5 separate regions of the Homo sapiens genome follow, and regions 1, 2, 4 and 5 are each linked to region 3. Evidence: promoter capture Hi-C in human tissues and cell types (Jung and others, 2019). All regions are on one chromosome and are shown on one strand. Each heading gives the region's core, a stretch centred on a gene start or on the middle of the fragment in contact. The rest is flanking DNA. Distances are from core to core; before and after follow the strand shown.

Region 1 (5,052 bases), core at 473-2,972, 1.2 Mb after region 3:
TTTTCTTTTTCACCATAGGGCTCAAAGAGCTCCCATATATCCATTGACAGATTATATTAAAACAGTGTTTCCAAACTGCTCAATCAAAAGAAATATTTAACTCTCTGAGATGAATGCACACAACACAAATCAGTTTCTCTGAAATATTCTTTCTAGTTTTTATGTGAAGATGTTTCCACTTCCACCATAGGCCTGAATGTGCTCCAAAATATCCTTCACAGATTCTAGAAACACAATGTTTCCAAGATGCACCATCAAAGGAAAGGTTTAACTCTGTGAGATGAATGGACTCATCAAAAGCAGTTAGTCAGAAAGCTTCTTTCAATTTTTTATCTGAGGATATTTTCTTTTTCACCATAGGCCTCATTGCATTCCGAAGTATCCTTTCACAGATTCCACAAAAACAGTGTTTCCAAGCTTCCCAATAAAAAGGAAGCTTTATCTCTGTGAGACAAATGCACACATCACAAAGCAGTTTCTCAGAAAGTGTCTTTCTGGTTTTTATGTGAAGATATTTCCTTTTTTCACTCTCAGCCTCAAAGCGCTCCCAAATATCCCTTCACAGATTCTACAGAAACAGTTTATCCAAACTACTCGATCAAAAGAAAAGTTTAACTCTGTGATTTGAATGCACAAATTACAAAGCAGTGTCTCAGAAAGCTTCTTTCTAGATTTTATCTGAGGATAATTCCTTTTTCACCATAGGCCTCAATGTGCTCTCATAAATTCCTTGGCAGATTCTACAAAAGCAGTGTTTCCAAAGAGCACCATCAACAGAAAATGTAACTCTGAGATATTAATTTACACATCACAAAGAATTTTCTCAGAAAGCTTCTTTCTACTTTTCATTGGAAGATATTGTCTTTTTCACCTTGGTCCTCATTGTGTTTCCAAATATCCATTTGCAGATTCTAGAAAAACACAGTTTCCAAACTGCTCAATCAAAAGAAAGGATTAACTGTGTGAGATGAAGGCACACAGAAACAAAGCTGTTTCTCAGAAATCTTTCTAGTTTTTATGTGAAGATATTTCCTTTTTCACCATAGGCCTCATTGCATTCCCAAATATCCCTTCACAGATTCTACAAAAATAGTGTTTCCAAACTGCTCAATCACAAGAAATGTGTATCTCTGTGAGATGAATGCACACATCACAACCAGTTTATCAGAAAGATTCTTTCTAGTTTTTATCTGAGAATATTTCCTTTTTCACCATTGGCCTCAAAGGGCTCCCAAATATCCCTTATCAAATTCTACAAAAACAGTGTTTCCAAACTGCTCAATCAAAAGAATATTTTAACTCTGTGAGATGAATCCACACATCACAAACCAGTTTCTCCAAAAGAATCTTTCTGTTTTTTATCTGAATGTATTTCCTTTTCAACCATAGGCCTCAATGTGCTCAAAAATGTCCTTTCCCAGATCCTACAAAAACAGTGTTTCAAAACTGCTCAATCAAAGGAATGGTTTAACTTTGTGAGATGAATGCACACATCACAAAGCTGTTTCTCAGAAATCTTTCTGGTTATATCTAAGAACATTTCCTTTTTCACTATAGGCCTCAATCCATTCCCAAATATCCCTTCGCAGATTCTACACAGTGTTTCCATACTGCTCAATCAGCACATAGGTTTTACTATGTGAGATCAATGCATCCGTCACAAAGCAGTTTCTCAGAAAGCTTCTTTCTAGATTTATCTGAAGATGTTTCCTTTTTCTAAGTAGGCCTCAAAGCACTCCCAAATATCCTTCACAGATTCTACAAAAACAGTCTTTCCAAACTGCTCAATCAAAAGGAAGGATTAACTCTGCAAGATGAATGCACACATCAGAAAGCAGTTTCTCAGAAAGCTTCTTTCTAATTTTTATGTGAAAATACCTCCTTTTTCAACATAGGCCTTGAGGAACTCCCAAATATCCCTTTGCAGATTGCACAAAAAACAGTGTTTCCAAAATGCTAAATAAAAAGAAAGGTTTAACTCTGTGAGATGAAAGTACACGTCACAAATCTGTTTCTCAGAACACTTCTTTGTAGTATTTATCTGAAGATATTTCCTTTTTCACCATAGGCCTCAATGTGCTCCCAAATATCCCTTTGCATATTCTAGAAAAACAGAGTTTCCAAACTACTTAATCAAAGGAAAAGATTAACTCTGTGACGTGAAAGCACACACCATGAAGCTGTTTCTTAGAAATCTTTCTAGTTTTTATTGACGATATTTCCTTTTTCACCATAGGCCTCAATGTGTTCCCAAATATCCCTTTGCAGGTTCTACAAAAACAGTGCTTCCAAACTGCTCAATCAGAAGAAAGGTTTAACTCTGAGAGATGAATGCACACATCACAAAGCAGTTTCTCAGAAAGCTTCTTTCTAGTTTTTATGTGAAGATATTTCCTTTTTCAATGTAGGGCTCAATGCTTCCCATATATCCATGGACAGATTATATTAAAAGAGTGTTTCCAAACTTCTCAATCAAAGAAATCTTTAACTCTGTGAAATGAATGTACACATCACAAAGCAGTTTCTCAGAAATCTTCTTTCTACTTTTTATGTGAAGATGCTTCTTTTTTCACCATAGGTCTCAATGTGCTCCCAGAAATCCTTGGCAGATAGTACAAAAGCAGTGTTTCCAAGATGCTCAATCAATGGAAAGATTAAACTCCATGAGATGAATGGACACATCACAAAGCAGTCGATCAGAAAGCTACTTCTAATTTTTATCTGAGGATATTTCCTTTTTCACCTTAGGCCTCATTGCATTCTGAAGTATCCTTTCACAGATTCTACAAAAACAGTGTTCCAAGGTGCCCAGTAAAAAGGAAGCTTTATGTCTGTGAGACAAATGCATACATCACAAAGCAGTTTCTCAGAAAGTATCTTTCTGGTTTTTATGTGAAGATATTTCCTTTTTCACCATAGGTCTAAATATGCTTCCAAATATCCCTTCATAGATTCTACCAAAACAGTATTTTCAAACTGCTCAATCAAAAGAAAGGTTTAGCTCTGTGAGATGGATGCACACATCAGAAAGCAGTGTTTCAGAAAGCTTCTTTCTAGATTTTATGTGAAGATATTTCTTTTTCAGCATAGGCCTCAATGTGGTATCATAAATCCCTTCACAGACTTTATAAAAACAGTGTTTCCGAAGCACTCAATAAAAAGAAAATTTAACTCTGTGAGATGAATGCACACATCACAAAGCAGTTTCTCAGAAAGGTTCTTTCTAGTTTTCATCAGAAGATATTTTCTTTTTCACCATAAGCCTCATTGTGCTCCCAAATATCCCTTTTCAGATTCTAGAAAAATACAGTTTCCAAACTCCTCAATCAGAAGAAAAGATTAACCCTGTGAGATGAATGCACACATCACAAAGCAGTTTCTCAGCAATCTTTCTAGTTTTTATGTGAAGATATTTCCTTTTTCACCATAGGCCTCATTCCATTCCAAATATCCCTTCACAGATTCTACAAAAATGGTGTTTACAAACTGCTCAATCAGAAGAAAAAGTTCAATTCTGTTAGATGAATGTACCCATCACTAAGCAGTTTCTCATGAAGCTTCTTTCTATATTTATCTGAAGATATTCCTTTTTCACAGTAGGCCTCTATGCTCCCAAATATCCCTTCATGGATCCTGCATAAACAGTCTTTCCAAACTGCTCAGTGAAAAGAAAGTATTTACTCAGTGGGATGAATGCACACATCACACATCAGTATCTCAAAAAGCTTTTTTCTGGTTTTTATCTGAAGATATTTCTTTTTCCACCATAGGCGTCAAGGCACTCCCAAATATCCCTGTGGAGATTCTAACAAAACAGTGTTTTCAAACTGCTCAATCAAAGGAAAAGTTTATCTCTGTGAGACGAATGCACACCTCACAAGGCTGTTTCTCAGAAAGCGTCTTTCTAGTGTTTATCTGAGCATATTTCCTTTTTCACCATAGGCCTCAATGTGCTCCCAAATATCCCTTCACAGATTCTACCAAATCAGTGTTTCCAAACTGGTCAAACAAAAGAAAACTTTAAATGTGTGAGATGAATGCACACATCACAAAACAGTTTCTCAGAAAGCATCTTTCTGGTTTTTACCTGAGGATATTTCCTTTTTTGCCATAGGCCTCAATGTGATCCCAAATATCCTCTCACAGATTCGACAAAAAGTGTGCTTGCAAACTGCTCAATCAAAGGAATGCTTAACCTTTGTTAAACAAATTCAGACATTACAAGCAGGTTTTGAGAAATATTCTTTGTAGTTTTTATGTGAAGATATTTCCCTTTTCACCATAGGCTTCAATGTGTTCCCTTATATCCCTTGAAACATTCTACAAAAGCAGTGTTTCCAAACTGCTCAATCAAAAGACAGGTTTAACCCTGTGAGATGAATGCACACATCACAAAGCAGTTTCTCAGAAAACACCTTTCTGGTTTTTATCTGAGGATATTTCTTTTTCACCTTAGGCACCAGTGCACTCCCAAATATCCTTTCACAGATTTTACAAAAACTGTTTCCAAACTGCTAAATCAAAAGGATACTTAAACTATGTGAGACAAATGCAGACAACCCATAGCAGTTTCTCAGAAAGCTTCTTTCTAGTTTTTATGTGAAGATATTTCCTTTTTCACCCAAGTCCTCAATGTGCTCCAAAATACCCTTCACAGGTTCTACCAAAATAGTGTTTCTAAGATGCTCAATCAAAAAAAGGTTTAACTCTGTGAGATGAATGTACACCTCACAGAGCAGTTAATCAGAAAGCTTCTTTCTAAGTTTTGTCTGAGGATATTTCCTTTTTCACCACAGGCCTGATTGCGTTCCTAAGTATACTTTTGCAGATTCTAGCAAAACAGCGTTTCCAAACTGTTCAATAAAAAGGAAGTTTTATCTCTGTGAGATGAATGCACACATCACAAAGCAGTGTCTCAGAAAGCTCCTTTCTAGTTTTTATCTGAAGATATTTCCTATTTCACCAGATTCCTCAATGTGCTCCCAAATGTCCCTTCACAGATTCTACAAAAACAGTGTTTCCACACTGCTCATTGAAAAGAAAGGTTTAACT
Region 2 (4,703 bases), core at 1,426-3,925, 1.8 Mb before region 3:
ACAAAATTGTATGCCGATCAATTTGATCAGAAGCCTCTTTCTTGGAACTGGAAGAGATGACACAAAGATGGTGCTTTCATGTTGGGTGGGAGAGAAATGGTTACCAGGGGCTACATCATAGTTGTTTCACTAATGAACATTGATTTTCATTGCTATTTTGTCTAAATTATGGTAATAATTAATGGCCTCGATCCAAAAAATTTTCTTAAAACTTAAGTTGTCAATCAGCCATAATATTAACCAAAAATGCATTAAAATGAAGGTATTTAAGTTATAATTTATATTTTCAAATTAAAATACTTCTGGAAATCTTTAAGGTTTTCTAGGTAGAGCATTATCAGTGAAGATAATTTAATTTCCTTTTTTTCTATTTAGATGCTTTTAATTTCTTTATTTTCTTGGATTGTTCTAACTAGGATGTCTAAAATTATGTTGAATAGGAGTGTTAGAATGGATATTTTTGTCTTATTTTTATTCTAATGGAGAATGCATGCAGCTATTGCCTTTTCAGTATAATGTTGGCTGAGGATTTTTAATACATGGCTCTTGCTATTTTGAGGTATGTTTTGTTAATGGTTTCTTTGTTGAGAATATTTTCATGAATGAATATTGGATTTCCTTGAGTGCATTTTCTGTGTCTATTGTGTTAATTGTATAATTTTTTAATTATCTGTACATGGTGAATTGCACTTACTGACTTGCATATGATTAAATATCTTTGCATAGGTGGAATTAAGCTCACGTGATTGTGGCAAAACGTTTTGATTTGCTTATGAACTCAGATTGCTCGTATTTCATGGAGGATATTTGTTTCAATGTTTACCAAAAATATTGGCCTGTAGTTTCCTTTTTTTGTTGTGCCTTCACTAGATTTTGGTATCAAGATAATATTGATTTTATAAAATGAGTTAGGGTGGAATTCCATCCTGATTTTTTGGAGTACATTCAGTAGTAGTACGAGCTCATCTTTGTATATGAGGTAAAATTTTGTTGTGATTTTACATAATCCAGGGCTTTTATGGTTGGTAGGTTTTTTATTACTAATTCAATTTCATCATATATATTTTATACATTTTTGCCCTGTTCAAGACTTCTGTTTCTTCCTGGTTCAATCTTGGAAATTTGTGTGTATCCAGGAGTTTATTTATTTTCTTAAAATTTTCTAGTTTGCAGGCATAGAGATGTTCATAGTAGTCTCTGATGATTTTTTGTATATATATAGAATTAATTGTGATTTCACATCTCTAACATTTAAATAGATGCAGAGTACAAAAGAATAGATGCACACAATGGAAGTTTGGCAAAATTTGACATTCCTTTATGATAAATCTCTGAAAAAATTTGTTATAGATCAAATTATTGGCACCTCAGCCAATAAGTGCCACATACAACCAAAAAATGCACAGGTAACAACATACTAAATGGGGATATGTTGCAAGATTTTACTCAAGAGCTAGAACAAGACAAGGATGCCCACTCATCCTTGCTAAAGTCAGTCTTACTAAACATAGAATGAATCTAAGGCAAAGAAATTAGAGAATAAAATCAAAGGCATCCAGATTGGACAAAAGGAAGTTAATTATTCCTGTGTAATTATCTTTTATCCTTATACATAATCTGAAGTATAGAAAACCCTAAGACTGGCTGGGTGCAGTGGCTCATGCCTGTAATCCCAATACTTTGGAGGCCGAGGCAGGCAGACCACCTGAGGTCAGGAGGATCGAGACCAGCCTGGCTAACATGGTGAAACCCAATCTCAACTAAAAATACAAAAAGAAAAAAAAAAAAGTTAGCCAGGCCTGGTGGCACAATACCTGTAATCCCAGCTACTCTGGAGGCTAATGCAGGAGAATTGCTTGAACCTGGGAGGTAGAGGTTGCAGTGAGCCGAGATCATGCCACTGCACTCCAGCCTGGGTGACAAACGTGAGACTCCATCTCAAAAAGAAAAGAAAAGAAAAGCCTAAGATTTTACTAAAAACTATTAAAAATAAACAAATTTATTAAGCTTTCAAAATACAAAAGTAACATCAAAGTCAGTAGCATTTCTACACATTAACTATCTCAAAATGAAAATTAAAAAACAATTTCATATACAATAACTATAGTAGTAAATTCAATACAAAGCAGAGAGTATACATTTGCTTTCAGCATTTTTGAGGCTTTTAGTTTTATACTAGTTACCTTGTTAAAATAATTTTTCCAATATTTCTTATGAAAATAAGTACAAACTTATACTAACACAGACTTACTTACTCCATCATTTCCTTACACCTAAAGTTTATCTCTACAGTAATGTATATTTAACCCTCTGTATATCAAACCTAAAAGTCTGTATGTGTTTGCAGGCAGACAGGACACAAGTTCAAATATATATATGTTTAAAATTTTAAGATATGTACTCAGAACTCAGAAATGTATGTATTTAATTTATACTTGCATATGATTTCTATAATAACCATAAAAATATCCCAGTAGTCAATAATAATTTAATCGTACTTTATTTTTTATTTCTTTTTTTGCTTGAGATGGAGTCTTGCAGTGTCACCTGGGTTGGAGTGGAGTGGTGCAATCTCAGCTCACTGTAACCTCCACTTCCCAGGTTCCTGGCCATCTCAAACTCCTAATCTCAGGTGATCCATCCGCCAGGGCCTCCCAAAAGTGCTGGGATTACAGGCGTGAGCCACTGCACCCGGCCATAATTGTACATTTTAAAATAAGTAAAAGTGTACAATTGGATTGTTTGTAATACAAAGGATAAATGCTAGAGGTGATGGATACCACATGTATCTCGATGTGAGTATTATGTATTGTATTTGTGTATCAAAATATGCCATATATGCCATAAGTATATACACTCATGTACCCACAGAAATTAAGAAAAACAAATTAAATGATTAAGAATAAAAATTTAACCTACAGGAACAATATTCTTTAACTTATTTGCAGTTTAAAGCCACTGGCAAAAGAGATGACTAAAGATGTTAGTCCATTATGTTACCAAATAGTATATTGTTAACATTTTTTACCTATATTTTTGGGCAAAGTGGAAAAGGTTAATCTTTGTGGTAAAATAACACTTCATTGAATGCACAATAGTATTTAACATGTTAAAAATGTTGAAACGATTAACTTCACACATAATCTAAAATTTTTAAAATGTACTGCATTTTATCATATAAAAGTACAATTAGTACAATATATGAATAATATACTACTAGTTTTCTCGTAATGCAAAGAATATCACTCTTAACACCTACCTCGTGCATCACTCAATAGTGTAAGTTAACCACAAAGAATCTCTCCACTTAGATTTTCATCATGCATCTTACATTCTAATATCCTTACTTGTACATAGAAAAGATCATAAATAATGCCCACCTAATGAAAAAGAATCTCTCATACCTTTGATGCAGCAAGAAATGATCACAAACTTTCACAAGTGAATAAGAATGAAGAAACAGCAGAAAATAATGACAGTTGAATTACATCATTTGCTTTCAAAAAATCTGTAATTTTTTCAAGAAATAAAGTATACTTTGAATGTAGTTATTACTCTGCAAAAAACTTTTACTCCTCTTAAAGTTATATACAAATAATTTTTATACCAACTTTAGTTTTAGATTATTTTCTATACTCAGAACTCTGATTTAGTATAACATCTGAAGTGTCAGTTCCTTATATATTTCTACTATAAATTCTCTGATATTTATGTAGACTTAAATTTGAATTAAATTTTTTTTTTCATTTTTACTGCATTTTCAAAAACATATTGTAGTATAAACTCTGGTGTTTTCTAAGCTGTAGTTTTTGAAAATTTGTTTTCCCAAATTTATTACATTTGCAAGACAACTCTTCAATATAAATTCCCTGATGTTGAACAAAGTTTAAGCAACTCCTTTAGAGTTTTCCTCTAGTACAAAATGTGGACAATAAGATCTGATACAAGTAAAGCTACTACAACCCTCTTTACACGTGTAATGCTCATCTTCAATATAAATCCTCTTCTTCACTTTAAAGAATAAGATTTTCTGAAAGGTCTTTTGACGGTAATTGCACTTATCATGCTTTTAGTAAGTATTAACTCTCTGGTGTTAGTAAGATGTGAGCAGATATTAATGTCTTTTTCACAGTCTATATTTGTACAATTTTTCTCAAATATGAATGCTTTTCTCTGCAATAAGGTGTGAGTATTAGTTAAAAATTTTGCCACCTTGTTCTCACTTGTAGGAATTTTTTCCACTATGAATTATATCACCTATAATCAAGTATGACAACCATTTAAAGACTTTGTCACATTCTTCACATTTCTAGGATTTCTCAGCAATATGATTTCTCTTATGGTTAGAAAAGTTTGAGGTATTGTCAAAAGCATTATCACATCTTTCTGATTTGTAGAGTTTCTCTCCAGTATGAATTATCTTATGTGTGTTAAGAACTGAGGACTAGCTAAAGCCTTTGCCATATTTTTCACACTCATGGGGTTTCTCTCCAATATGAATTTTCTTATGTTTATTAAGAATTGAGGACTGGTTAAAGGCTTTGTCACATTCTTCACATTTGTAGGGTTTCTCTCCTGAATGAATTATTTTGTTCAATAAAGTTTTAGGACTGGTTAAAAGCTTTGCCACATTCTTCACAGTTGTAAGCAGCTTATGTTATGTTTAGTAGGAGTTGAGGACTGGATAAAGGCTTTACCACATT
Region 3 (4,953 bases), core at 2,363-4,862:
GGCTCAAGCTTTAATTACCATGTCAGAGTCATTCACTTAGTTTTTGAAAATAAGTGTTTGAAAAATCCAGCAAAATGATTCAAAAACATATAAGAAAATTTTAAGGTGCTTACATTTTGTACCTCAGTAAGAGAAGCAAATGTATTTATTTCTTTTGGACAATAAAGTATTATTTTATTTTTTGTATTAAAAATCATGTGGTAAACAGTTACATGGGAACACTTCTAGGAGGTACCAAATTTCATCAGATAAAATTTAGCATTAAACTCAGAAATTGAAATAACAGGATATAGAACAAAGATATTTACTTTAGCAAGTTTACCCTGCAAAAAAAGAAACTGATGTTTTCATGAAACTATGTAACTCACCAATTATCTACCACATTTTCTTGTGGAAATACATTAATTCTCTACAGCCGAAATGGAAGAAAAATTTTTCTTATTTTTTTTCCTTGGTAGCTAACATTCTAAAAGCTAGATGGAATTCTGTTTGAAATCATTCAGCCATAAAAAACACACCTGAAGGCCAGGCATGGTGGCTTACGCCTGTAATCCCAGCACTTTGTGGGGCCAAGGCAGGTGGATCATGAGGTCAGGAGATCGAGACCACCCTGGCTAACATGGCTAATATGGCGAAACCCCGTCTCTACTAAAAATACAAAAAAATTAGCTGGGTGTGGTGGCGGGCGCCTGTAGTCCCAGCTACTCGGGAGACTGAAGCAGGAGAATGGCGTAAACCCTGGAGACAGAGCTTGCAGTGAGCCGAGATCCCACCATTGCACTCCAGCCTGGGTGACAGAGCAAGACTCTGCCTCAAAAAAACAAAAAAACAAAAAAAAAAACACCAGAGAAAACTCCTAAATTCACTCTGAGAAAGAAAAAGGTGAATGAGAATTTTCAACAAATAAAATATACAGATATTATTTTCTGAAACTCACCTTTTTATGCTCTTTGTAAATATTTTCTTACCTTTCAAGCCCTACTAATAAAATGCAATTTACAGTTAAAAAACTGAGGTCAGCCGGGCACAGTGGCTCACACCTGCAATCCCAGCACTTTGGGAGGCCAAGGTGGGCAGATTACTTGAGGTCAGAATTTTCAGCTCAAACAGCCTGGTCAACATGGCAAACCCCCATCTCTACTAAAAATACAAAAAGTAGCCAGGTGTGGTGGTGGGCACCTGTAGTCCCACCTACTTGGGAGGCTGAGGCATGAGAATCACTTGAACTCGTGATGCAGAGGTTGCAGTGAGCCAAGATTGCACCACTGCACTACAGCCTGGGCGACAGAGGAAAACACTGTCAAAAAAAAAAAAAAAAAAAACCAAAAAAAAAAAAACCCTGAGGTCAAAATAAGTGAACAATGCATTTAATCATGTCAAGGTACGGATATGTCTGACTCATGTGTCAAGTCAGGCCATCCAATTACTTGAGAGATTCTCCCACCCCATCCTGTTCACTTAAGTGCTCAATAATCATTCTCTCAGGAGACTCTGAACTATGCCCCAGAGTGCCCCAGGTATATTTTACTTTGCAAGTTTTTGCACCATCTCACTGGGGTCAGTTGTTTTTGTCTTTGGAGTGCTATTTTATTTCACAAACCTTTTACCATTTTTATTTCACTATTTTTCTGTCCCCTAAGAGAATGCAGGGGCAAAAATTATTTTGGTTTCCCCTTCAATACCAGCATCTGATTGTCTGAACAGCAATGTGTCTCCAAGAAATGGAAGCTGGGTTGGGTAAAGACAATATTAATATCTCAAGGGAGTAGCTTTCCAAAAAAACAGCACACCAGAAGATGACTCAGCCACAGTGCATTCACCTGCTCTCTTGAGAAGCTACGCTTCATATCTCAGGTTGTCTTATGGGAGATCAGAGGCTACACTCCATACCTCAGGTTGTCTTATGGGAGAAAAAGACCCAGGAGCTGATATTCACTAGACACTCTCACAGACATAGCCATGGCGGGTATCTTGGTTTTTCCCCAGACAGTACTGAATCTCAAGTCCAAGAAAAAACTGAAGGGTGGCTGAGGACACATCTCCCTATAAAGTTTCCAAAGGGAAATCTTGACCCAAAAACATTGTGATATCTGTGTCTACGGAAAACAGAAGAAAAAATATTTACAAACAGAAAACAAATCTTTTTAAATGTGCCATCAAATGCTTTGTCAAAAAATGATTAAAATAGGTATCAAAATGTACACTAAACTATTTGTTGATAATATGAATAAGGGAGGGGAAATTGGCATTTGGGAATGTCAGAAGGAAGTGAAAATCAAGTATTTTACTGCAAGCCAGAGTCAGGCCGGAGAAATAGGGGATGGGGGATGGACTTGAGGCCCTACTTGGGACACATGTGAAAAATGCAAGGAAACAGCAGTTCCCTGTGGGGTGTGAAAATAATTAAGTGGCTGGCAGTTAGACTGAGGAGGCTGTAGTTCCTAATTTCTACTTTTAAAAAATCTAATTCGGCCAGGCGCGGTGGCTTACACTTGTAATCCCAGCACTTTGGGAGGCCGAGGCAGGTGGATCACTTGAAATCAGGAGTTCAAGACCAGCCTGACCAACATGGTGAAACCCCATCGCTATTAAAAATACAAAGTTAACGGGGCGTGGTGGCGCATGCCTGCAATCCCAGCTACCTGAGAGGCTAAGGCAGGAGAATCGCTTGAACCTGGGAGGCGGAGATTGCAGTGAGCCCAGACGGCGCCATTGCACTCCAGCCAGGGCGACAGAGTGAGACTTTGTCTCAAAAAAACTAATTCAAATGCATTTTTTGTAAATTACTATATTGGGGGAAAAAATTCAGGCTTAACAAACTATAAACTGCCAATTAACCTCTGATTACATAACCAAGAAATTTCCATCTTGATAGTACGAATTAAGAAACTACGTAACTGTACCTAACCAATTATCGAATTTGGTTTTCTTCATTAGGCACCTTATAAAACTCTTCCGTCAAACCTCTTCAATAGACCATAAACTACAACCCATAGCTGGGTGCTCTACAATTTTGGAATCACTCTTTGGTTAAATTATTTAATATTTGTGCGGTGACTTCTGCAAATTTTTAATAGGAGAAAACAGGGGCTGGGAACCTCACGGACCAAAGCTCTTTCCATTCTTGAACCCACACGCCGAGTCAGGATTCTCCTGTGACGACCCTCCCATGCTCCCTGCACATCTGAGAGAGACTCCGCGCTGCGGGTGCAGAGCGGCCCCAAGAGGGCTCCAGGCCAGGGCACAATCACAGCGCAGGGAAAAGACAGGACGCCCGGGGACCGGGTGTCAGCGCAGCCGCCATCTTATGCCTGAAGCGGACTGAGGTCGAGCTAGGCAAGGAGAACACGGGGCACAGATTGTGGAGCTGACTGAGAGGAGGCCTGAGTCCCGCCACAGCCACTTCCCACCGGTTCCAACCAGCGGCTGCCACTCTCTCGGGATGTCGGACCCGGCTGACTCACCATTTCTAGGCTTCCGGGGGTCCTGGCGACTTAGTTGTGAATCTCCCAATACCTGCAGGTCACAGGGCCATAGAAGCTGGGCCTTTAGGAGCGGACGACACACAGCAGTAAGGACGACACCTTGACCTCCGCGTGCAGCGAGAGCCAACGGTCCTACCACATCCCGGAAGCCGCCCTGTCCGCTCCAGCTGCGTGCCTGATTGGACGGTCCCAGTCCAGCGTCCCTGATTGGATAATGTTTAAGGCCCCGCCCCTTCAGGCCCTGAGTGACGGAAGATGTTATCAGATGCTGGGCTGACTGAAGAAAGAGTGCCAGCCCAGTCTGCCGCAAAGGCCGGGCGTGATGGCTTACGCCTTTAATCCCATCGGTTTGGGAGGCGGAGGCGGGGGGATCACCTGAGGTCAGAAGTTCAAGACTAGCCTGGTCGACCTGGTGAAACTCCTTCTCTACTAAAAATACAAAAATTAGTTGGGCGTGGTGGTGGGCGCCTGCAATCCCAGCTACTCAGGAGGCTGAAGCAGGAGAATCATTTGAACCCAGGAGGTGGAGGTTGCAGTGAGCCGAGATCGGGCCATTGCACTCCAGCCTGGGCAACAAGAGTGAAACGCCATCTCAAAAAACAAAACAAAAAACCCTAATTTTAGTAAAATCTTATAAATAAATCCATCAAATTTGTCATTTTTGAACGCTCTAGATTTTCATATATATTTTATAATCTCTTTTTTTTATTTGTTTATCTTTTTGAGACAGTCTCCCTCTGCCGCCCAGGCTGGAGTGCAGTGGCAGGATCTCGGCTAACTGAAAGCTCCGCCTCCCGGGTGCAAGTAATTCTCCTCCCTCAGCCTCCCCAGAAGCTGGGATTACAGGCGCCCGCCACCACGCCCTGCTAATTTTTGTTTTTTTAGTAGAGACAGGGTTTCACCACGTTGAGGCCAGGCTGGTCTGAAACTACTGACAGGCAATCCGCCCACCTTGGCTTCCCAAAGTGCTGGGATTACAGGCTTGAGCCACGGCGCCCGGCCTTATAAACGCTTATAATTTTTTAACTCTTTCGATTTTATTAGACTTTTTTTTTTAACTTGAAACAACCTTTATTTTATTTTATTTGAGAGTCTTGCTCTGCTGGCCAGGCTACAGTGCAATGGCATGATCTCAGCTCACTGCAACCTCCCCCTCTTGGGTTCAAGCGATTCTCCTGCCTCAGCCTCCCGAGTAGCTGGATTACAGGCGCCCTCCACCACACCCAGCTAATTTAGCATGGTGGCCTGAACCTGTAGTAGCAGCTATTCAGGGGCTGAAGTAGGAGGATTGCCTGAGCCCAGGAGGTTGTGTCTGCAGTGAGCCCTGATCAAGCCACTGCACTCCATTCTGGGTGACAGAGTGAGACCCTTTCTAAAAAAAAAAAAAAAAAAAAGCCAAAGCATATAAACTTAAACTTATGAGAGTTTGGGGGTTTTATTTTTGTCTTAAATTATTATATTTCAATAG
Region 4 (4,920 bases), core at 1,928-4,427, 1.3 Mb after region 3:
ACTGTTTTTGTAGAATCTTTGAAGGGATATTTGGGAGCGCATTGAGGCCTATGTTGAAAAAGTAAATATCTTCAGATAAAAATTAAAAAGAAGCTACTGGAGAAACAGCTTTGTGATGTGTCCATTCATCTCACAGCATTCAACTTTTTTTTTGAATCAGCAGTTTGGAAAGACTGTTTTTGTAGAATGTGCAAAGTGATATATGGCCTCATTGAGGCCAATAGTGAAAAAGAAAATATCTTCAGATAAAAACAAGAAAGAAGCTTTCTGAAAAACTGCTTTGTGATGTGTGCATTCCTCTCACGGAGTTAAAACTTTCTTTTCTTTGGGGAATCTGGAAATATTGTTTTTTTAGAATCTGCCAAGGGATAATTTGGAGCACATTGAGGCCAATAGTGAAAACCAAATTATCTTCAGATAAAAACTAGAAAGAAGTTTTTTGAGAAACTGCTTTGTTATGTGTACGTTCATCTCATAGAGCTAAACCTTTCTTTTGATTCAGCAGTTTGGAAACACTGTTTTGGTCCATTCAGTGAATGGATATTTGGGAGCTCTTGGGCCAGTAATGAAAAAGTGAATATCCCAGGTTAAATAACTGGAAGGAAGCTGTCTGAGAAACTACTTTGTGATGTGTGCATATATCTCACAGAGATAAACCATTCTTTTCATTAAGCAGTTTGGAAACACAGCTTTTTTAGGATCTGTGAAGGGATATTTGGGAGCTCATTGATGCCAAAGGTGAAAAAGCGAATATCCAAAGATAAAAACTAGAAGGAAGATATATGAGAAACCCTTTGTTAAGTATGCATTCATCTCACAGAGTTAAAACTTTTTTTGATTCAGCATTTTGGAAATACTGTTTTTGTAGAATCTGTGAAGGGATATTTCGGAGCGCATTGAGGCCTATGGTGAAAAAGAAAATATCTTCAGATAAAAACTAGAAAAAAAGCTTTATGAGAAACTGCTGTGTGATGTGTGCATTTATCTCACTGAGTTAAAACGTTCCATTGATTCAGAGGTATGGAAACACTGTTTTTGTAGAATCTGCGAAGGGATATTTGGGAGCGCATGCGGCCTATGGTGAAAAAGAAATTATCTTCACATAAAAATTAGAAGGAAGATTTCAAAGAAGCTGATTTGTGTCTTGTGCATTCATCTCAGATAGTTAAATCTTTCTTTTATTCAGCAGTTTATAAACACTGTTTTTGTCCATTTTGTGAATGGGCTTTTGGGAGCCCATTGAGGCCAATGGCAAAAAAGCAAATATCCCAGGATAAAAGCTAGAAGGAAGCTATCTAAGAAACTGCTTTATGATGTCTGCATTCATCTCACAGAGTTAAACATTTATTTTCATTCAGCACTTTGGAAACAGTGTTTTTGTAGAATCTGCAAAGGGATATTTGGGAGCATATTGAGGCCTATGGTGAAAAAGGAAATATCTTCAGATTAAAACGAGAAAGGACCATCCTGAAAAACTGCTTCATGATGTGTGCATTCATTTCACAGAGCTAAACTTTTCTTTCAATTCTGCAGTTTGGAATGACTCTTTTTCTCCATTCTGTGAATGGACATTTGTGAGCTCATCGAGGGCAATAGCCAAAAAGCCAATATCCCAGGATAAAAACTGGAAGGAAGCTATCTGGGAAGCGACTTTGTCATGTGTGCATTCATCTCACATCATGAAACCTTTCTTTTTCATTTAGCAGTTTGGAAACACGGTTTTTGTAGAATCTGCGAAGTGATATTTGGGAGCACATTGAGGCCTATGTTGGAAAAGAAAGTATCTTCAGATAAAAACTGAAAAGAAGCTTTCTGAAAAACTGCTTTGTGATGTGTGCATTCATCTGACAGAGTGAAAACTTTCTTCTGATTCAGCAGTTTGGAAACACTGTTTTTATCCATTCTGCGAATGGACATTTGGGAGCTCATAGACACCAATGGCGAAAAAGTGAATATACCAGGATAAAACCTAGAAGGAAGCTATCTGAAAAACTGTCGTGTGATGCGTGAATTCATCTCACAGTGATAAACCATTCTTTCCATTAAGCAGTTTGGAAACACTGTTTTTGTAGAATCTGCAAAGGGATATTTGGGAGCACACTGAGGCCAATGGTGAAAAAGAAAATATCTTCAGATAAAAACTAGAAAGAAGCTTTCTGAGAAACTGCTTTGTGATGTGTGTATTCACTTCACAGAGTTAAAAGTTTCTTTTGAATCAGCACTTTGGAAAAACTGTTTTTTTCCATTCTGCAAATGGACATTCAGGAGCTCATTGAGGTCAATGGTGAAAGACTGAATATCCCAGGATAAAACCTAAAAGGAAGCTATCTGAGAAACCACTTTGCGATGTGTGCATTCATCTCACAGAGTTAAATTTTTCTTTTGATTCAGCAGTTTGGAAACACTATTTTTGTCCATTCTGCGAGTGGACATATGGGAGCTCATTGAGACCAATGGTGATTACACAAATGTCCCAGGATAAAAACTAGAAGGAAGCTCTCTGAGAAACAGCTTTGTGATGTGTGCATTCATTTCACAGAGTTTAAACTTTCTTTTGATTCAGCAGTTTGGAAATGCTGTTTTCCCAGAATCTGAGAAGGGATATTAGGGAGCTCATTGAGGCCAAAGTTGAAAAAGAAATTAGCTTCAGATAAAAACTGGAACTGAAAAACTGCTTTGTGATGTGAACATTCATCTCACAGAGTTAAATTTTTCTTTTAATTTAGCAGTTTGGAAACATTGTTTTTGCCCATTCTGCGAATGGACATCTGGGAGTTCTTTGAGACCAATGGCGATTATGCAATTATACCAGGATAAAAACTAGAAGGAAGCTATCTGAGAAACCGCTTTGTGAAGTGTGCATTCATTTCACAGAGTGAAACCTATCTTTTCATTCAGCAGTTTGGAAACACTGTTTTTGTAGAAATATCTAAGGGATATTTTGAGTGCATTGAAGCCTGTGGTTAAAAAGAAAATATACTCAGATGAAAACTAGAAAGAAGGTTTCTGAGAAACTGCTTTGTGATGTGTGCATTTATCTCACAGAGCAAAACTTTTCTTTTTATTCAGCCGTTTGGAAACACTGTCTTTGTCCATTCTGCAAATGGGCATTTTGGAGCTCACTGAGGTCAATGGCAAAAAAACAAATATCCCACGGTAAAAATAAGAAGAAATCTATCTGAGAAACCGCTCTGTGATGTGTGCATTCATCTCACTAAGTTAAACCTTTCTGTTGATTCATAAGTTTGGAAACACTGTTTTTCCACAATCTGCGAAGGGATATTTGGGAACATATTGAGCACTATGGTGAAAGGAAAATATCTTCAGATACAAACTACTAAGAAGCTTTCTGAGAAACTGCTTTGTAATGTGTTCATTCGTCTCCCATAGTCAAAACTTTCTTTTGATTTGTGAGTTTGGAAACACTGTTTTTGTCCTTTCTGTGAATGGATATTTTAGAGCTCATTGAGGCCAATGACAAAAAAGTGCAAATCCAAGGATAAGAACTACAAGGAAGCTATCTGAGAAACCGATTTGAGATGTCTGCATTCATCTTGCAGAGTTAAACATTTGTTTTCATGCAGTAGTTTGGAAGAACTATTTTTCTAGAATCTGCACAGTGATATTTGGGAGCGCATTGAGGCTTAGGGTGGAAAAGAAAATATCTTCAGATAAAAATTATAAAGAAGCTGTCTGAGAAAATGCTTTGTGATGTGTGCATTCATCTTACAGAGTTAAACCTTTCTTTTGATTCAGCAGGTTGGAAACCCTATATTTGTCCATTATTCGAGTGGATATTTGGCATATCATTGAGGCCAATGGCAAAAAAGCGAATATCCCAGGATAAAAGCTAGAAGGAAATTATCTAAGAAACCACCTTGTTGTGTGTGCATTAATTGCGCAGAGTTAAAGCTTCCTTTTCATTCAGCAGTTTGGAAATGCTTTTTTTTTGTAGAATCTGTGAAGGGATATATGTGAGTGCATTGAGGCCTATGGTAAAAAGAAAATATCATCTAGATAAAAAACTAGAAAGAGATTTTCTGAGAAACTGCTAGGTGATTGTCCATTCCTCTCACAGATTGAAACCTTCCTCCTATTGTAGCAGTTTGGTAACACCATTTTAGTCTATTCTGCGAGGGGACATTTTGGAGCTTATTTAGGCCAATAGCAAAGAAACGAATATCACAGGATAAAAACTAGAAGGAAGCTATCTGAGAAATGGCTTTTTGATGTGTGCATTTATCTCACAGAGTTATACCTTTATTTTGATTCAGTAGTTTGGAAGCACTGTTTTTGTAGAATCTGCAAAGAGATATTTGGTAGCACATTGACGCCTCTGGTGAAAAAGAAAATATCTTCGGATAAAAACTAGCAAGTAACTTTCTGAGATACTGCTTTGTGATGTGTACACTCATGTCACAGAGTTAAAACTTTCCTTGGATTCAGAGGTTTGGAAACACCATTTCTGTAGACTCTCTGAAGGTATATTTGGGAGTCCACTGAGGCCTAAGGTGAATAAGAAATTAACGTTGATAAAATGTAGAAAGAATCTTTCTGAGAAACCACTTTCTGATAGGTGCATGCATCTCATAGGGTTAAATGTTTCTTTACATTGAGCAGTTTGAACACACTGTTTTTGGAGAATCTCTAAAGGGATATTTGTGAGCGCATTGAGGCATGTGATGAAAAAAATGCCTTCAGATAAAAACTAGAAAGAAGCTTTCTGAGAAACTGCTTAATGAGGTGTGCATTCATCTCACAGAGTTAAACGTTTCTTTTGATTCAGCAGTTTGGAAACACTGTTTTGGTTCATTCTGCAAATGGACATTTTGGAACTCTTTGAGGCCTATGGGGAAAAAGCAAATATCCTTGGATAGAAACTAGAAAGAAGCTATCTGAGAAACCACTTTGTGATGTGTG
Region 5 (4,984 bases), core at 234-2,733, 1.3 Mb after region 3:
TAGAAAGAAGCTTTCTTAGAAACTGCTTTTTGATGTGTGCATTCATCCCACAGTGTTAAACCTTTCTTTTGATTCAGTAATTTGAAAAAACTGCTTTTGTGGATTCTGCAAATGGACATCTGGGATTTCATTGAGGGCAATGGTGAAAAAGTGAATATATCAGGAGAAAAACTAGAAGGAAGCTGTCTGAGAAATTGCTTTGTGATGAGTGCATTCATCTTGAAGAGTTAAACCATTCTTTTCATTCAGTAGTTGGGAAACACTGTTTTTTTAGAATCAGTGAAGGAATATTTGGGAGCGCATTGAGGCCTACAGTGAAAAAATCTTCAGATAAAAACTAGAAAGAAGAGATCTGAAAAACTGCTTTGTTATGTGTCCATTTATTTAACAGAGTGAAACCTTTCTTTTGATTCAGCAGTTTGGTAACACTGTTTTTGGCGATTCTGCGAATGGACATTTAGGAACTCATTGAGGCCAATGATGGAAAAGTGAATATCCCAGAATAAAAACCAGAAGGAAACTATCTGAGAAACCACTTTGTGATATGTGCATTCATTTTGCAGAGTGCAACCATTCTTTTCATTAAGTGGTTTGGAAACACTGTTTTTGTAGGGTCTGCGAAGGGATATTTGGGAACGCATTGAGGCCCATGGCAAACAGAAGATATCTTCAGATAAAAAGTTGAATGGAACTTTCAGAGAAACTGTTTGTGATGTGTACATTCATCTCACAGAGTTAAACCTTTCTTTTGATTCAGCAGTTTGGAACCACTGCTTTGGTCCATTCTGCAAGTGGACATTTGGGAGCTCATTGAGGCCAATGACAAAAAAGTGAATATCTCAGGAGAAAAACTAGAAGGAAGCTATCTGAGAAACCACTTTGTGATGTGTGCATTCATCTCACAGAATTAAAGGCTTCTTTTAATTCGGCAGTTTGCAGACACTGTTTTTATAGGATTTGTGAAGTGATATTTTAGAATGCATAGAGGCCTATGGTGAAAAGGAAAATATCTTCAGATACAAAATAGAAAGAATCTTTCTGAGAAACTGCTTTATGATGTGTGCATTCATCTCACAGAGATAAACTTTCTTTTCATTCAGCAGATTGGAAACGCTGCTTTTGTAGAATCTGCAAACTGATATTTGGGAGCTCATTGAGGCCTATGCTGAAAAAGAATCTATCTTCATATAAAAGCTAGAAAGAAGCTTTCTGAGAAAGGGTTTGTGATGTGTGCATTCATCACACAGAGTTTAACATTTGTTTTGATTCAGGAATTTGGAAACACTGTTTTTCTCCATTCTGCAAACAGACATTTGGGAGCTCATTGACGACAATGGCAAAAAAGTGAATATCCCAGGATAAAAACAAGAAGAAGCTATCTGAAAAACCGCCTTGTGATGTATACATTCATCTCACAGAATTAAGCATTTCTATTCATTCAGCAGTTTGGAAAAACTGCTTTTGTAGAATCTGTGATGGGATATTTGGGAGTGTTTGAGATCTATGGTGAAAAAGAAAATATCTTCATAAAAAACTAGAAAGAATCTTTTGGAGAAGATTGCCACATGTGCATTCATCTCACATAGTTAAAACTTTCCTTTGATTCAGAGTTTTGGAAACACTGTTTTTGTAGAATCTGTGAAGGGATATTTGGGAGTGCATTGAGGTCTATGTTGAAAATGAATATATCTTCAGATAAAAACTAGCAGGAAGCATTCTTTAAACTGTTTTGTGATGTGTGCTTTCATCTCTCATAGTTAATCCTTTCTTTCTATTTAGCAGTTTGGATAAACTGTTTTTGTCCATTCTGCGAATGCACATTTGTGAGCTCATTGAGGCCAGTGGTGAAAAAGTGAATATCCCAGCATAAAAACTAGAAGGAAGCTATCTGAGAAACCTCTTTGTGACGTGTGTATTCGTCTCACAGATATAAACCTGCTTTTTCATTCGGCATTTTGGAAACACTGTTTTTGTAGAACCTGCAAAGGGATATTTGAGAATGCATTGTCTATGGTGAAAAAGAAAATGTCTTCAGATAAAAACTGAAAATGTTTCTGAGAAACTGCTTTGTGATGTGTGCCTTCATCTCACAGAGTAACCATTTCTTTTAATTCAGCAGTTTGGAAAAACTGTTTTTGTCCATTCTGTGAATGGACATTTGGGAGCACATTGAGACCAATGGAGAAAAAGTGAATATTCCAGGATAAAGACTAGAAGGAAGCTATCTGAAAAATCACTTTGTCATGTGTGCATTCATCTCACAGAGATAAACCATTCTTTTCATTAAGCAGCTTGGAATATCCATTTTTGTAGAATCAGCAAAGGGATAGTTGGGAGGCCATTTATGCCAAAAGTGAGAAAGCGAATATCCCAAGATAACTTTTAGATGGAAGCTGTCTGAGAAACCCCCTTGTAATATGTGCATTCATTTCACAAGGTTAAACTTTTCTTTTCGTTCAGCAGTTTGGAAACACTGTTTTCATAGAAGCTGCGAAGGGGTATTTTGAATTGCATTGAGGCCTAGGGTGAAAAAGAAAATATCTTGAGAGAAAAACTAGAAAGATGCTTTCTGAGAAACTGTCTTGTGAGGTCTCCATTTATCTAACAGAATGAAAGCTGTCATTTGATTCAGCAGTTTGGAAACTCTGTTTTTGTCCATTTTCCGAATGGACATTTGGGAGCTCATTGAAGACAATGGCGAAAAAGCAAGTATCCCTGGATGAAAACTAGAACAAAGCTATCTGAGAAATTGCTTTGAGATGTTTGCATTCAGGTAGCAGAGTGAAATATTACTTTTCAATCAGCAGTTTGGAAACACTATTTGGGAGCGAATTGAGGCCTGTGGTGAAAAAGAAATTATTTTCAGATAAATACGGAAAAGAAGCTTTCTTGGAAACTGCTTTGTGATGTGTGCTTTCATCTCACACAGTTAATCCTTTCTTTTCATTCAGCAGTTTGGGAACACTGTTTTTGTAGAATCTGTGAAGGGATATTTGGGAGCAACTTGAGGCCTATGGGAAAAACAAAATATCTTCAGATATGAACTAGAAAGAAGATTTCTGAGAAACTGCTTTGTGATGTGTGCATTCATCCCACAGAGTTAAACTTTTGTTTTCATTCAGCAGCTTGGAAACACTGTTTTTGTCCATTTTGTGAATGGATGTTTTGGAGCTCATTGAGGTCAATGGCAAAAAAGCAAGTATGCCAGGATAAAAACTACAAGGAAGCAATCTGAGAAACTGCTTTGTGATGTGTGCATTCATCTCACATAGTTAAACTTTTCTTTTTATTCAGAAATTTGGAATCACTGTTTTTGTAGAATCTGCAAAGGGATATTTGGGAGTACATTGAGGCCTATAGTGAAAAATAAAATATCTTCAGAGAAAAACAAGAAAGAAACTTTCTGAGAAACTACTTTCAGGTGTGTACATTCATCTCACAGAGTTAAAACTTTTATTTGATTGAGCAGTTTGGAAACACTGTTTTGGAAGTATTGCAAAGGTTTATTTGGGAGCCAATTGAAGCCTATAGTGAAAAATGAAGTACCTTTAAATAAAAACTAGAAAAAAGCTTTCTCAGAAACTGCTTTGTGATGTGAGCACTCTTCTCACAGTGTTAAACCTTTCTTTTGATTGAGCAGTTTGGAGACACTGTTTTGGTGGAATCTGCGAAGGGATATTTGGAAGCACTTTGAGGCCTATGATGAAAAAAGGAAATATCTACAGATAAAAACTAGAAAGAAGCTTTCTGGGAAACTTATTTGCCATGTGTGCATTCATCTTACAGAGTTAAACCTTTCTTTTGATTGAGCAATTTGGAAACACTGTTTTTGTAGAATCTGCTGAGGGATATTTGGGAGCGCTTTGAGGGCAATGGTGAAAAAGGAAATATCTTCAGATAAAAACTAGAAAGAAGCTTTCTCAGAAATCGTTTTGTAGGGTGTGCATTCTTCTCACAGAGTTAAACGTTTGTGTTGATTGAGCAGTTTGGAAATACTGTTCTTGTAGAATCTGCGATGGGATATATGGGAGCACATTGTGGCCTATGTTGAAAAATGAAATATCTTCAGAGAAAAACTAGAAAGAAACCTTCTGAGAAACAGCATTGTTATGTGTTTATTTTTCTAACAGATTTAAACTTTTCTATTGATTGAGCAGTCTGGAAACACTGTTTTTTTTAGAACCTAAGCAGGGATATATGGGAGAGCATTGAGGCCTATGGTGAAAAAGTAAATATCTTCTGAGAAAAACTGAAAAGAAGCTATCTGAGAAATGGCTTTTTGATGTGTGCATTCATCTCACAGAGTTAAATCTTTCTTTTGATTGAGCAGTTTGGAAACACTGTTTTGGTAGAATCTGCGAAGGGAAATTTGGGAGCACTTTCAGGCCTATGGTGAAAAAGGAAATATCTTCAGATAAAAAGTAGAAAGAAGCTTTCTGATAAACTGCTGTGTGTAGAATACATTCACCTCACAGAGTTAAACTTTTGTTTTGATTGGGCAGTTTGGCAGCAGTATTTTTGTAGAATCTCAGAAGAGATATTTTGTAGCACTTTGAGGCCTAAGGTGAAAAATGAAATATCCTCAGATTAAAACTAGAAAGAAGCTTTCTGAGGAAACTGCTTTGTGATGTGTGTATTAATCTCACAGAGTTAAGCCTTTCTTTTGAGTGAGCAGTGTGGAAACCTTCTTTTGGTAGAATCAGGAAAGAGATACTTGGGAGCGCATTTAGGCATATGATGAAAAAGAAAATATCTTTAGATAAAAACCAGAAAGAAGGTGTCTCGGCAACTGCTTTGTGATGCAAACATTCCTCCACAGAGTTACACCTTGCTTTTCATTGAGCAATTTGGTGACACTGTTTTGGAAGTAACTGCGTAGGGATATTTTGGAGTGCACTGAGGCCTATGGTGAAAAAGGAAATATCTTCAGATAAAAATTTGAAAGAAGCTTTCTCAGAAACTGCTCGGTGATGTGTGCATTCTT

What was found. The method cuts DNA at HindIII sites, captures the fragments that hold promoters and counts their contacts. A contact is called where the count stands out against the background at its distance.
Region 1: a contact is called between a fragment that was not itself captured here and the fragment with the promoter of ZNF728 in region 3, in 1 of the 25 tissues and cell types used here (dorsolateral prefrontal cortex).
Region 2: a fragment that was not itself captured here is called in contact with the fragment with the promoter of ZNF728 in region 3 in 1 of the 25 tissues and cell types used here (dorsolateral prefrontal cortex).
Region 4: a fragment that was not itself captured here is called in contact with the fragment with the promoter of ZNF728 in region 3 in 1 of the 25 tissues and cell types used here (dorsolateral prefrontal cortex).
Region 5: a contact is called between a fragment that was not itself captured here and the fragment with the promoter of ZNF728 in region 3, in 1 of the 25 tissues and cell types used here (dorsolateral prefrontal cortex).

What each region holds. Positions count from the first base shown.
Region 1 is chr19:24,211,191-24,216,242 of GRCh38, forward strand. No RefSeq gene overlaps it. Among named protein-coding and RNA genes, the nearest start is that of LINC03085, 67 kb to the left of the region's middle. The HindIII fragment of the contact is 3,157 bases long and covers 145-3,301 here.
Region 2 is chr19:21,217,159-21,221,861 of GRCh38, forward strand. No RefSeq gene overlaps it. Among named protein-coding and RNA genes, the nearest start is that of ZNF431, 77 kb to the left of the region's middle. RefSeq lists an enhancer at 4,327-4,703. The HindIII fragment of the contact is 4,040 bases long and covers 656-4,695 here.
Region 3 is chr19:22,999,564-23,004,516 of GRCh38, forward strand. ZNF728 (zinc finger protein 728) reads right to left here and starts at 3,613. Exons shown (of 4, transcript NM_001267716.2): 1 at 3,465-3,613. The coding sequence starts at 3,467. The HindIII fragment of the contact is 10,079 bases long and covers 1-4,953 here.
Region 4 is chr19:24,300,980-24,305,899 of GRCh38, forward strand. No RefSeq gene overlaps it. Among named protein-coding and RNA genes, the nearest start is that of LINC03085, 160 kb to the left of the region's middle. The HindIII fragment of the contact is 3,599 bases long and covers 1,379-4,920 here.
Region 5 is chr19:24,326,084-24,331,067 of GRCh38, forward strand. No RefSeq gene overlaps it. Among named protein-coding and RNA genes, the nearest start is that of LINC03085, 180 kb to the left of the region's middle. The HindIII fragment of the contact is 3,488 bases long and covers 1-3,227 here.